Linked DNA regions of Homo sapiens: region 1 is linked to region 2. Evidence: promoter capture Hi-C in 16 types of primary human blood cells and fetal thymus (Javierre and others, 2016). All regions are on one chromosome and are shown on one strand. The core of a region is centred on a gene start or on the middle of the fragment in contact, and the rest is flanking DNA. Distances in the headings are between cores, read along the strand shown.

Region 1 (5,193 bases), core at 354-2,853, 500 kb after region 2:
TGTTTAATCCTGTTTACAATGTTCTGCCATAGCTTTGACTGACTTTACTATTATTGTAAAGGCAGAAATAAAGCTTTATGCCAAGAGCTAATAATTTAAAAGAAAAAACATCACCTCAGTATCAGTCCCTTTGCATTTAGTGCAGGGTAAGTTTAGTGTTGGGCCTTAAGAAAGATGGAAGGAGGTAGGCCAGCTCAAGCCTCAAGCTGGCAGGGCCGAGAGGCTGGGCTTTGATCTACCAACCACATGTCCTGGCTCTGTGGACAGCGAGGCGAGGAAGCTGTGAGCCCAGCATGAACCTTGTGCCTGAAACGTCTGCCTCTGTGCTTGGGCTGCCTCCTCTGAGACCTCTGGGTGTGAATTTTCAGTGAGCTCAAGGCAGTGCACATAACAGCTGCTACAGTTTTCCATACTTAACTCTGAACATACTATAGACTACCCATTTATATCCTGTTTGGTTTAGTTAAAATAGTAAATAAGTAGATGATTCCTGGTTATCTCAGACATTCCTGGAAATATTTACTATGATGTTGGTCTGGTTATCTCCAGCTCCTTGGAATCCCAATAAATAATCGCACAAATACAGGGAATTGTTGGGGAGGGAGAAGCTTGTTTGATAAATACATAAATGATGAGAAAACTAGTCAAAATTTAGTTTTTAGGATGTGTCATGGGATTAAGATAAATTTACTTGAATTTCCCGTAGTCTGACCTGCCATCTACAGTTAGCTAATGTTCATTGGGAATCAGATGAATACCCTATTTTTCAAGAATTCTAGAAGGGTGGTTAAGAGTTTTTAGTATTATTTCTTTTTTTTTTTTCAAATGGACAGTCTCTTATTCATCCTCCTCCTCCTCCTCCTCCTCCCCTCCTTCTTCCTTTTCATCTTGTTCATCTTCATCTTCCTCTTCCACCTTTTTCTGGGCAACTTTAGCAGGACCCTTTTCTCCATCAAACTTTCCTTTCAACTTATAGTCAGAAACATCCTTCTCATACTTTTCCTTCAGCTTTGCCGCCTTAGTGGTGTAAGGCTGCTTTTCACTGTCATTTAAGTTATTCCGCATCTCACCCAGCTTTTTTGCCATGTCTCCAATAGAGATGCCAGGGTTTATGAATTTGATCTTGGGGTGGAATTCTGAACAGAGCAGGAAGAATCCAGACGGTGGCTTTTTCGGGGCATTAGGATCCTTCTTCTTGCCTCCCTTAGCTGGTCCATAATCCTTCATTTCCCAGTGGTAGTGTACTTTATCCACCTTTGCCATTTCATCAAATTTAGACTTCTCTTTCCCAGACATTGTCTTCCACCTCTCAGAGCACTTCTTGGAAAATTCTGCAAAATTGACAGAGACCGCTGGGCTCTTCTTCTTATGTTCTTCTCTGCACGTCTGCACAAAAAGGCATAAGCAGACATCTTGCCCTTTGGTTTCTTGGGGTCACCTTTAGCCATCCTGACTGTATTGTTCGATAGTCTGGGCAGTGCCTGTCTTAATAAGACATGTTTTCTGCTTTCTTTCCTTTTCTTTTTTTGTTTTTTGAGACAGAGTTTCGCTTTTGTCACCCTGGCTAGAGTGCAGTGGTGCCATCTCAGCTCACTGCAACCTTCACCTCCCGGGTTCAAGCGATTCTCCCGCCTCAGCCTCCAGAGAAGTGGGGATTACAGGGGCCCACCACCATGCCTGGCTATTTTTTTTTTTTTTTTTTAGTAGAGACTGGGTTTCGCCAAACTCCTGACCTCAGGTGATCTGCCTGCCTCAGCCTCCCAAAGTGCTGGGATTACAGGCGTGAGCCACCGCACTAGGCCTCCTACTTTCTTTTCTAAGTAATATTTTTTAGCCTTGTCACCAATAAGAAATTTTTTTAGAAGGACATATGATTAAATCACTCATCCATTCCATGATGTTTTGACAACAAATTTACTTTTTTTTATACATATTTTCTTAATATTGCAGCAGACCTATAAGTAACAATGCTGGGCTTCTGTTTTGTTTTCACCCCAGGTTCTCCTCAAAATCTAAGTCTATGGACAAATCAGATGAAGAACTCCAGTTTCCCAAAGAGTTGATGGAGGACTGGAGCACCATGGAGGTGTGTGTGGACTGCAAGAAGTTCATTTCGGAAATCATCAGTTCAAGCCGGCGCAGTCTGGTGTTGGCCAACAAAAGGGCCCGATTGAAAAGGAAAACGCAGTCTTTCTACATGTCCTCGCCAGGCCCCTCGGAGTACTGCCCTTCAGAGAGGACGATCAGTGAGATCTGAGCCTCGTGCCTTTCAGCTGCTTTTGTGCTACGAGTCAGCGTCCGTGCGCGAGGACACTGAGCCGGGCTGGCTCTCCTTTCTGTGGTTTTATTTAATGGGCTTGAATTTGCATTAGATCAGATTTTTGCCGCATCACATTGTTCCACAGACTGAATGCTGTGTTCGTATCGATTGATGAAACGTGACAGGTCCGCCAATTGCTCGTTTGCACTGAGAGAGGACAACAGTTTGAAACTTACTTTTGTGTGTGTGTGGCTTTGGAAGCCAGTAGCTACTTCCTTAGTTCAGTTCTTTACTGTTCCTCGAATAATCTCCTGACTAAGGCAAAAAAAAAAAGCTTCTCCTACGAGAATCAGTCTAACAGAGATGCCGATGTCAGCACAGCCCTAAGCAGTAAGTCATATTGGCATTTCCACGTGACTGTGTTTCTATCCCGTGTACAGAGAGATCCAGAGCCCTACACTCCACGACCTGGGGGCTCACAGCACAGAACCTAGAAGCACCTGCTGACACTCTTCAACTGATTTTTAAATGTTGTTGCTTGGAGATAAAAATTACATAAGGGACTTTTTGCCTGCATTCTAGTGCAAAACATCTGAAGAGCTGTACACCCACAAGGGTGACTATTTCCCCTGAGTGGCCGTGTTGTCCCAGTGCCCTGGTTCAGTGTCTCCTGAGTGGATGACAGGTCTTCATTCTCTATCTTGAATGTATTATGGTTACTAATAGTTTTATAATGGAGGTCTAAGAATTAAAGTTGTGTGGGAGTTTCAGGACAAAGGAAGGCTAAAAGTTTGTCAAGACGTTGAGCGTATTTTGGTTACCTATGAGAAGGGTTGTGACAGTGTACAGTGGCAGCTGTTGGCCACGCTGCAGAAATGAGCTGGAGCTCATGGGTTTTCAGCTACATTTTTCATAACTTTGTAGTACATCCATCTTGAGTAAATTAAGCCACAATTTGGTACCTAGGGTCTCAAACTAAAATTTATTTTTATAAATGAATTTTAAAAGAAAAAATATCTACTTCTTTTAAAGTTAGAAGAAAATTAACCTGCTGACAGGCAACATTTTTGGGGTGCTTTCTGCACTAGTTTTCCTTGTAAATGATTTGAGTGAGTAGGTTTGGTTTCTGACGAAAGTAGACTGGAGGGTAGCATTGTATGCCTCAAATGTCTCAGTGTGTTTGGCTCATACGTGGGCTATACTGTATTATTTTGGTATGCTTACAAATGACTAACCAATCAAATTGTCATTAATGTTTGGAAAATCTGTTAATGCACATGCACAATAATTTCCTGAAAGCCATAGGACATGTCTGTAGTCAGCACCACGATAGCACCGTTTCATGAAAGGCATGGCGGCTGCATTTCATACCACATCAAAATACAGTAACATTTCTATACTAAATTAACAGTAATACCTCAAAACTGCTCCGGTAGTAGTTTTTAATGGATTGAAATTTACAGTTTAGTAAAAGGCTTAAAATTACTTATACTTATGAAATAAACTTTACCAGTTGACTAAAATAATGCATGTTAACAGTTGGTCTGTATTTGCATGTAAAAGTGGGCCACCAGAGAACCCTTATTGATTACTTAAGTGTTTACATTATTTTAAAGACTCCTGTTTAAGAGCTTTCAGAATTGTACTGGGTGAATCTCATTTATAAAACTTCCTAAGAGACTATCTGAACTCTATACTCCAGACAGTTAGGTGGGAGTATAAATCTACCCCTTTTGATGACCCCAGGCTTGAGTTTTTAAAATGACTACCCAGAAGGGCACAAGGGGGAAGGAAATGGTATTTGTATATGTATATAAATATGCACCTAGGAGAATGTGCTTTTTAAAATAATGACTACTGTTTTTATTAAAACATAAGAAACTACACCCCCAAAATAAGACTTTCATTCACATTCACAAAGCAAACATCTAGTACATGTCTTTCACTTCACTTTATGATAGTGTATTGGATGATTTGGGCATTACGATCACCTCTTACCACAGCACAGAACATACATTCTTCAACAGCATTAACGGAGTTTGCCAAGTGCATTAAAGAGGTCACGTGGAGGGTACGTTCATATGAAACAATCTGCAGAAAGTGGGGTAAGAAAGGGCACATGGCACAGTTAAAGTTGTAGAAATCAAATTACTATCATTTTTTGTTGCCAAAACAAAGTCTTACATTTAACCCCCCTTTCTACCACCCCCCTCCACACTTCACGTCAGCTACATAGTTTCCACAGGGTAATTCACTAAGAGCTTGTGGAGCTTGGTTTTAAAATCCTTAGCCTGGTCTGACTTTAGGCATAGCTTCCAGTTCTTCCTTCCGTGTCCTGGTTTCTTGTTCAGTTTTACTTCTAATCCAACAACAAAAGAAATGTCTGGCTGGTCTCAGCTAGAGTCTGATGTGTCTTAGAGCATGTGTGCGTATCTGAACCATCATCCCTGCTCTCATCTCAGCTCCCTCCAGGCCTGAGCACCGGTTCCTTTTGTCCCATACGTCATGAAGTCACACTATTGGGAAACCTGTGCTTCCCTCTCCATGGCTTAACTCCCTGTCAGTGTCGGAGTGTATAAGAATGCTTGTAAATACTGTAATATATTTATTAATATTTGAAAGGCATTCATTCAGTGGACAGTGGGAATTAACTCTCCCAAGGCAAGTGAAAATGAATGATTGACGTACGTTGATTTAACAATCTTACTAGATTTTAATTCTTAAGGATTTCAAATGAAACCAGAAGGTGGTTATGTAAGAGGCTTAAAATGATCTTATGTTTAAAGAGATTCTGTTATTAGCACCATGAACTCGTACTATGAAATTTTTAAGCCTTTTATTTTTCTAACTATATTACTGTAGGACTGGATATTAGGTGTCATATAGGAAACACAAAAGTTTATTGCTGTTTGCTAAAGCAAAATAGCAGAAAA
Region 2 (5,302 bases), core at 1,185-3,684:
CACTTTCTAAAAAGAAAAATATATTACTTGCTCAATTAAAAATATATACAAATAAATACATGGCTCCTCCTTTAAAAAAAAAGTACTCTGGAATAAATGGACCTAAGAGGGCTGGGCAAGGTGACTCACACCTGTAATCCCAGCACTCTGGGAGGCTGAGGTGAGAGGATCACTTGAGCTCAGGAGTTCGAGACTAGCCTGGGCAACGCAGCAAGACCCTGCCTCTACAAAAAAAATGTTTTAATTGGCCAGGCGTGGTGGCGTGCACTCGTAGTCCCAGCTACTGGAGAGGCTAAGGTGGGAGGATGGCTTGAACCTGGGATGTTGAGGCTGCAACAAGCCAAGATCGCACCACTGCACTCCAGCCTGGGTGACAGAGCCAGACTCTGCCTCAAAAAAAAAGGAAAAAGAAAAAAGAAAAAAAAAATTATACTAAGTGAAATAAACCAAATATAAAAGGGCGAATATTCTATGATTCTATTTATCTGAGGTACCTAGAATATGCAAATTAATAGAAAGCAGTAGAATAGAGGTTACCAGAGGATGGGGTGGCGGAACAGGGTGCTCTTGGGTACAGAGTTTCAGTTTAGGATGATGAAAAGGTTCTGGAGATGGGCAGGGGCGACGCTGCACAAAAATGTGAATGCTGTGCTCTATGCCACTGAATTCTACACTTTAAAACGGTTAACGTGGGCCGGGCGCGGTGGCTCACGCCCGTAATCCTAGCACTTTGGGAGGCCGAGGTGGGCGGATCACGAGGTCAGGAGATAGAGACCATCCTGGCTAACATGGTGAAACCCTGTCTCTACTAAAAAATACAAAAAATTAGCCGGGCGTGGTGGCGGGCGCCTGTAGTCCCAGCTACTTGGGAGGCTGAGGCAGGAGAATGGCGTGAACCCGGGAGGCGGAGCTTGCAGTGAGCCAAGATTGCGCCACCCCACTCCAGCCTGGGTGACAGAGCAAGACTCCGTCTCAAAAAAAAAAAAAAAAAAAAAAAAAAAACGGTTAACGTAGTTTATTACAACAAAAATAAACTTGTTTTAAAAAAGAAACTACATCTTTTAAAAATTGCAACACTATTTATAAAAAGTTTATCTTTGAGAGATCACTGGTATCAAACTCGAATGTGAAAAAGGATAAACTATCCTTCAGATTTCCAGTTACTCTGGAGTTGTCGAGAACCAAATAATCCGCACTCCAGCTTTCATTCATCCTGCAACACATCTGGGAGGTTCCTAAATCTCATGTAGCATCCCCACATTAGAAATTCTGCTTGTAGGCCGGGCGCGGTGGCTCACGCCTGTAATCCCAGCACTTTGGGAGGCCGAGGCGCCGAGGCGGGTGGATCACGAGGTCAGGAGTTCGAGACCAGCCTGGCCCACATGGTGAAACTCTGTCTCTACTAAAAAATACAAAAAAAAAAAAAGATTAGCCGGGGGTGGTGGCGTGCACCTGTAATCCCTGCTACTTGGGAGGCTGGGGCAGGATAATCGCCTGAAAGCGGGAGGCGGACGTTGCAGTGAGCCGAGATCGTGCCATTGCACTCCAGCCTGGGTGACAGAGTGAGACTCGGTCTCAAAAAAAAAAAAAAAAAAAGAAAAGAAATTCTGCTTGTCGGAAGTGTCTACAGACGTTTACGGGAACTTCAAGAAACAAACCCTCCGATTCCTGGGCAGCAAGCAGGGAAATCATTGGATGTAAATGGTTTGTATTTTTCTTCCTCGGCGTAACAAAGTGAGCTTCTGCTCTGAACCCACGGAGAAAACCATGTGCCCTGGTGAGAGAACACCGGCGGGGCACAGAACTCGACGCAGCGCCAGCCAGGCAAAGTCTCCCACCAGGTCCCACTGCAGGTCGTCGGGTGAACAGCGCGGGCAAGACCCACGACGCCGAGGCTGACGGTGGGATGCCCCTGGGTTCCCGCCCGCAGCCCCGGCAGCGCGGCCTGGGAGAGGGCCCGGCGTACCCTGCGGGCGGGAGCGCGCACGTGGCACCAGCTGCGCAGGCGCACGGGAGGGCGGCCCGCGAGGCCGCCGTGACCCCACAATACGCGGGCGGGGAGGGCTTCCGCTCAGTCCAGCCAGGGCTCGCCCGCCACCCCACAGCTTCCAGCGGCGTCACTGAACCAAGACACAGCCCCGTTCCCCGCGCCGCCCACCCACTCCCCTTCCTTCCTTCCGGGGTCGGCCCCGCCCGCAAGCGCCGCGCGCACCTTAACGCTCTGATCGCTGGAGCAGGTTGCCATCCGCCGCCCGTGGAAGTCGAAAGAGACATCGTGGATGAGATCCTTGTGGTCCGCCGCGATGCTGCGAGCCACAAACATGGTTTCCGTCGGGCCCGCGCCTCCGAAGAGGACAGTGGCGGCGGCAGCGGCGGCGGCGCGTGGCCCGTAGCCTAGCCAGACCTCGCAGCCCGGGAGCGCACGGCTTGTGCTGCCCACGCCCCCGCACCGCCCCTGCCTATCAAGCCCCGCCCACACACCCTCCGGTCCTTCAAGCCCCGCCCCACCCACCGGCCCGTCAGGCCCCACACAGTCCCCTGGCCCCTCAAGCCCTGCCCACGCCCCGGCCCGTCATGACTCGCCCCACCTTCCGGTCCCTCAAGCCCCGCCCCGCCCCCAGGCCCGTCAAGCCCCGCCTACCCTCCCACCAGAGCCGTCATGCCTCGCCCCACCCTCCCGCCCCCTCAAGCCCCGCCCTGTTCCCGGCTCGTCAATCCTCGTCCCGCCCCCGGCCCGTCATGCCCTACGATCCTGGTGCGGGTTCCTCCAGGCTCTGACCGTTCGGCGGCGGAGGGTGCTCTGCAAAAGGCGAGTTACCTGTGCTGAGAAGTAGTAAGAGCTTATTGGTATACTGTGCAAATGAAGAAAGATGAAAAAGTGAAGACTGCCTCTCACGGTCCTCGGCCCTGAATCATTTAAGTCGACGTTTGGATGTGTTTCCCCCCAGACACATGCGAGGCGCGCGGAGCAGGTGGAGAAGACGAACCGTGGGTTTGGTCAGGAGCCGCGCTCCGTCGGGACGGCTGAAGAGCAGGGAGGGCCGGGGAGACGCCTGAGGGGATGACAAGCAGTCCAGGCTCGGCAGCCTAAGAGCGAAGGCTGGACGGGGAGGAAAGGATCAGAAGTAGTAGTTTAAATGTGTCAAGATTTTACAGGTAGAACAGGCCTGGGGGTGCTAGGAGCCACCACGGGGGTAGGGAAATAGTATGAATTAGAAGAGTCCGCCTGTAGAAACGTGTCATCCCGGGGGAAGGAAGCGGCCGGGGAAGTGGGCTGCTTGCTACCCGGGAGCCAGAGTCCTCCGGGGAAAAGGAAGTGAAGAGGGCCAGAGCCCCTGGGAAGAGGCCTGGCTCAGATCAAGGATTCTGCCAAAACCGGAAAGTGGAGGAGCCAACGACTCGGGGGGTTTTGCTTATCAGGAAAAGGCATTCTAGAGGGCGTAGTGGTAAAGTTAGGATGGGAGACAGTGGAAGCTTGCGTCAGGGGAGCGAAAGTACAGAAAAAAAAAAAATGAGGCTGCAGAAGGGACTTGCCCTTTGGATTTTGGCCAGGAATGACAAAAATGTGAGGTATGGTAAAATTAGCAGGCTGGAAAGTTTTTTAAATGATTAGTCCCAGCTGTCCCCTGATGGATTGCACAGAAACCTGCAAAGAGAAGTGGCGCAATGACCTGACCTTTTTCAACCATAAATAAGATTTTATTGCTACTTTAAGAGGTGGGCCCCACCTCTTATGATAACTGATAACAACTATAACTTTTTTGAAGGTCAAAGACACTCATTTCCAAAGAAAGTGCTCACTATAAAAGTCCAATCAAAATATATTGATTATTATAAAAATATCAAAACAGTTTAAAAATTGTTTTAATTAAATTTAAATACAGACAGTAAACAGATCATTGGTTGCCAGAGATTATCAGAGTGGGAGTGAAGTGTTGAATTAGGTGAAACAGTGGATTTTTTAAAATAGACTTTAGTTTTTAGAACACTTTCAGGTTCACAGCAAAATTGAGCAGAAAATAGAGTTCCCGTATGTACCCCTACTGTCACACATGCACAGCATCCTCCACTGTCAACATCCCATACCAAAGTGGTACCTTTGTTATGATCAGTGAACCTACATTGACACATCATTATCACCCAAAATTCAGAGTTTGCATTAGGGTTCACTCTTGGTGTTTTATTCTGTGGGTTTTGGCAAATATATAATGACATGGATCCACCATTATAGTATCACGCGGAATAGTTTGACTGCCCTGAAAATCCTTAGTGCTCCTGTTCATCCCTTTCTTCCGACAACACCTGGCAACCGCTGATCTTTCCACTGACTGCATGGTTTTGACTTTTCCAGAATGGCATATAATGGGAATCTTGGAGTGGCTAGCCTTTTCAGATTGGCTTCTTTCCTTATAGTAATATGCATTTAAGCTTTCTCCATGTCTTGTCTTGAGAGTTCATTTCTTTTTAGTGCTGAATAATATTCCATTGTCAGGCTGTAACAGTGTTTATTCATTCCCCAACTAAAGGGCATTCTGGTTGTTTCTGTGTTTGGGCAATTATCAATAAAGCTCCTACAAACATCTGTGTACAGGTTTTTGTGTGGACATGTTCGCAACTCCTTTGGGTAGATACCAAGAAGCATGATTGCTGGATCATATTGTAAGAGTAAGTTTAGTTTTGTTTTTTGGGGTTTTGTTTTGTTTTTTGAGACAGGGTCTCACTCTGTCATGGCAGACAATCGTGGCTCACTGCAGCTTTAAATTCCCTGGGTTCAGATGATCCTCCCACCTCAGCCTCCCGAGCAGCTGGGACTACAGGCACAGTGCCACCACACCCAGCTAATTTTTCTGTTTTTTGCAGAGATGGGGTTTCACCATGTTGAGCAGGCTGGTCTCAAACTCTTGGGCTCAAGCGATCCTCTTGCCTTGGCCTCCCAAAGTGCTTGGATTACAGGCATGAGCCACTGTGCCTGGCCTGGTTTTATAAGAAACTTACAAACTGTCTTCCAAAGTGGTCGTGTCAGCCAGGCCTGGTGGCTAAATTACCCTGTAATCCAGCACTTTGGGAGGCCGAGACGGGCAGATTATCTGAGCTCAGGAGTTCAAGACCAGCCTGGGCAACGTGGCGAGACCCGCTTCTCTACTAAAAATACAAAATAAAAATACAAAAAAATGCCCCAGGAGTGGTGGTGGAACCGAGATTGTGCCACAGGACTCCATCCTGGGCAACGCAGGGAGACACTATCTCAAAAAAAAAAAAAAAAGAGAGAGAGAATTTAACACAGGAAACTGGTTACATATAT

The links. The method cuts DNA at HindIII sites, captures the fragments that hold promoters and counts their contacts. A CHiCAGO score of 5 or more calls a contact.
Region 1: a contact is called between a fragment that was not itself captured here and the fragment with the promoter of SEH1L in region 2, in 1 of 17 cell types (M0 macrophages). The highest score is 5.7, in M0 macrophages.

What each region holds. Positions count from the first base shown.
Region 1 is chr18:12,446,702-12,451,894 of GRCh38, reverse strand. It overlaps SPIRE1 (spire type actin nucleation factor 1), which reads left to right. Exons shown (of 17, transcript NM_001128626.2): 17 at 1,999-5,193. The coding sequence ends at 2,257. LOC105371998 (a long non-coding RNA gene) reads right to left here. Exons shown (of 6, transcript NR_136514.1): 6 at 4,097-4,351. It also overlaps the pseudogene HMGB3P28. Among named protein-coding and RNA genes, the nearest start is that of PRELID3A, 41 kb to the right of the region's middle. The HindIII fragment of the contact is 1,986 bases long and covers 611-2,596 here.
Region 2 is chr18:12,945,143-12,950,444 of GRCh38, reverse strand. It overlaps SEH1L (SEH1 like nucleoporin), which reads right to left and starts at 2,434. Exons shown (of 9, transcript NM_001013437.2): 1 at 2,213-2,434. The coding sequence starts at 2,323. RefSeq lists an enhancer at 1,254-1,855 and silencers at 1,787-1,886, 1,897-2,246, 2,287-2,736. The HindIII fragment of the contact is 15,085 bases long and covers 1-3,476 here.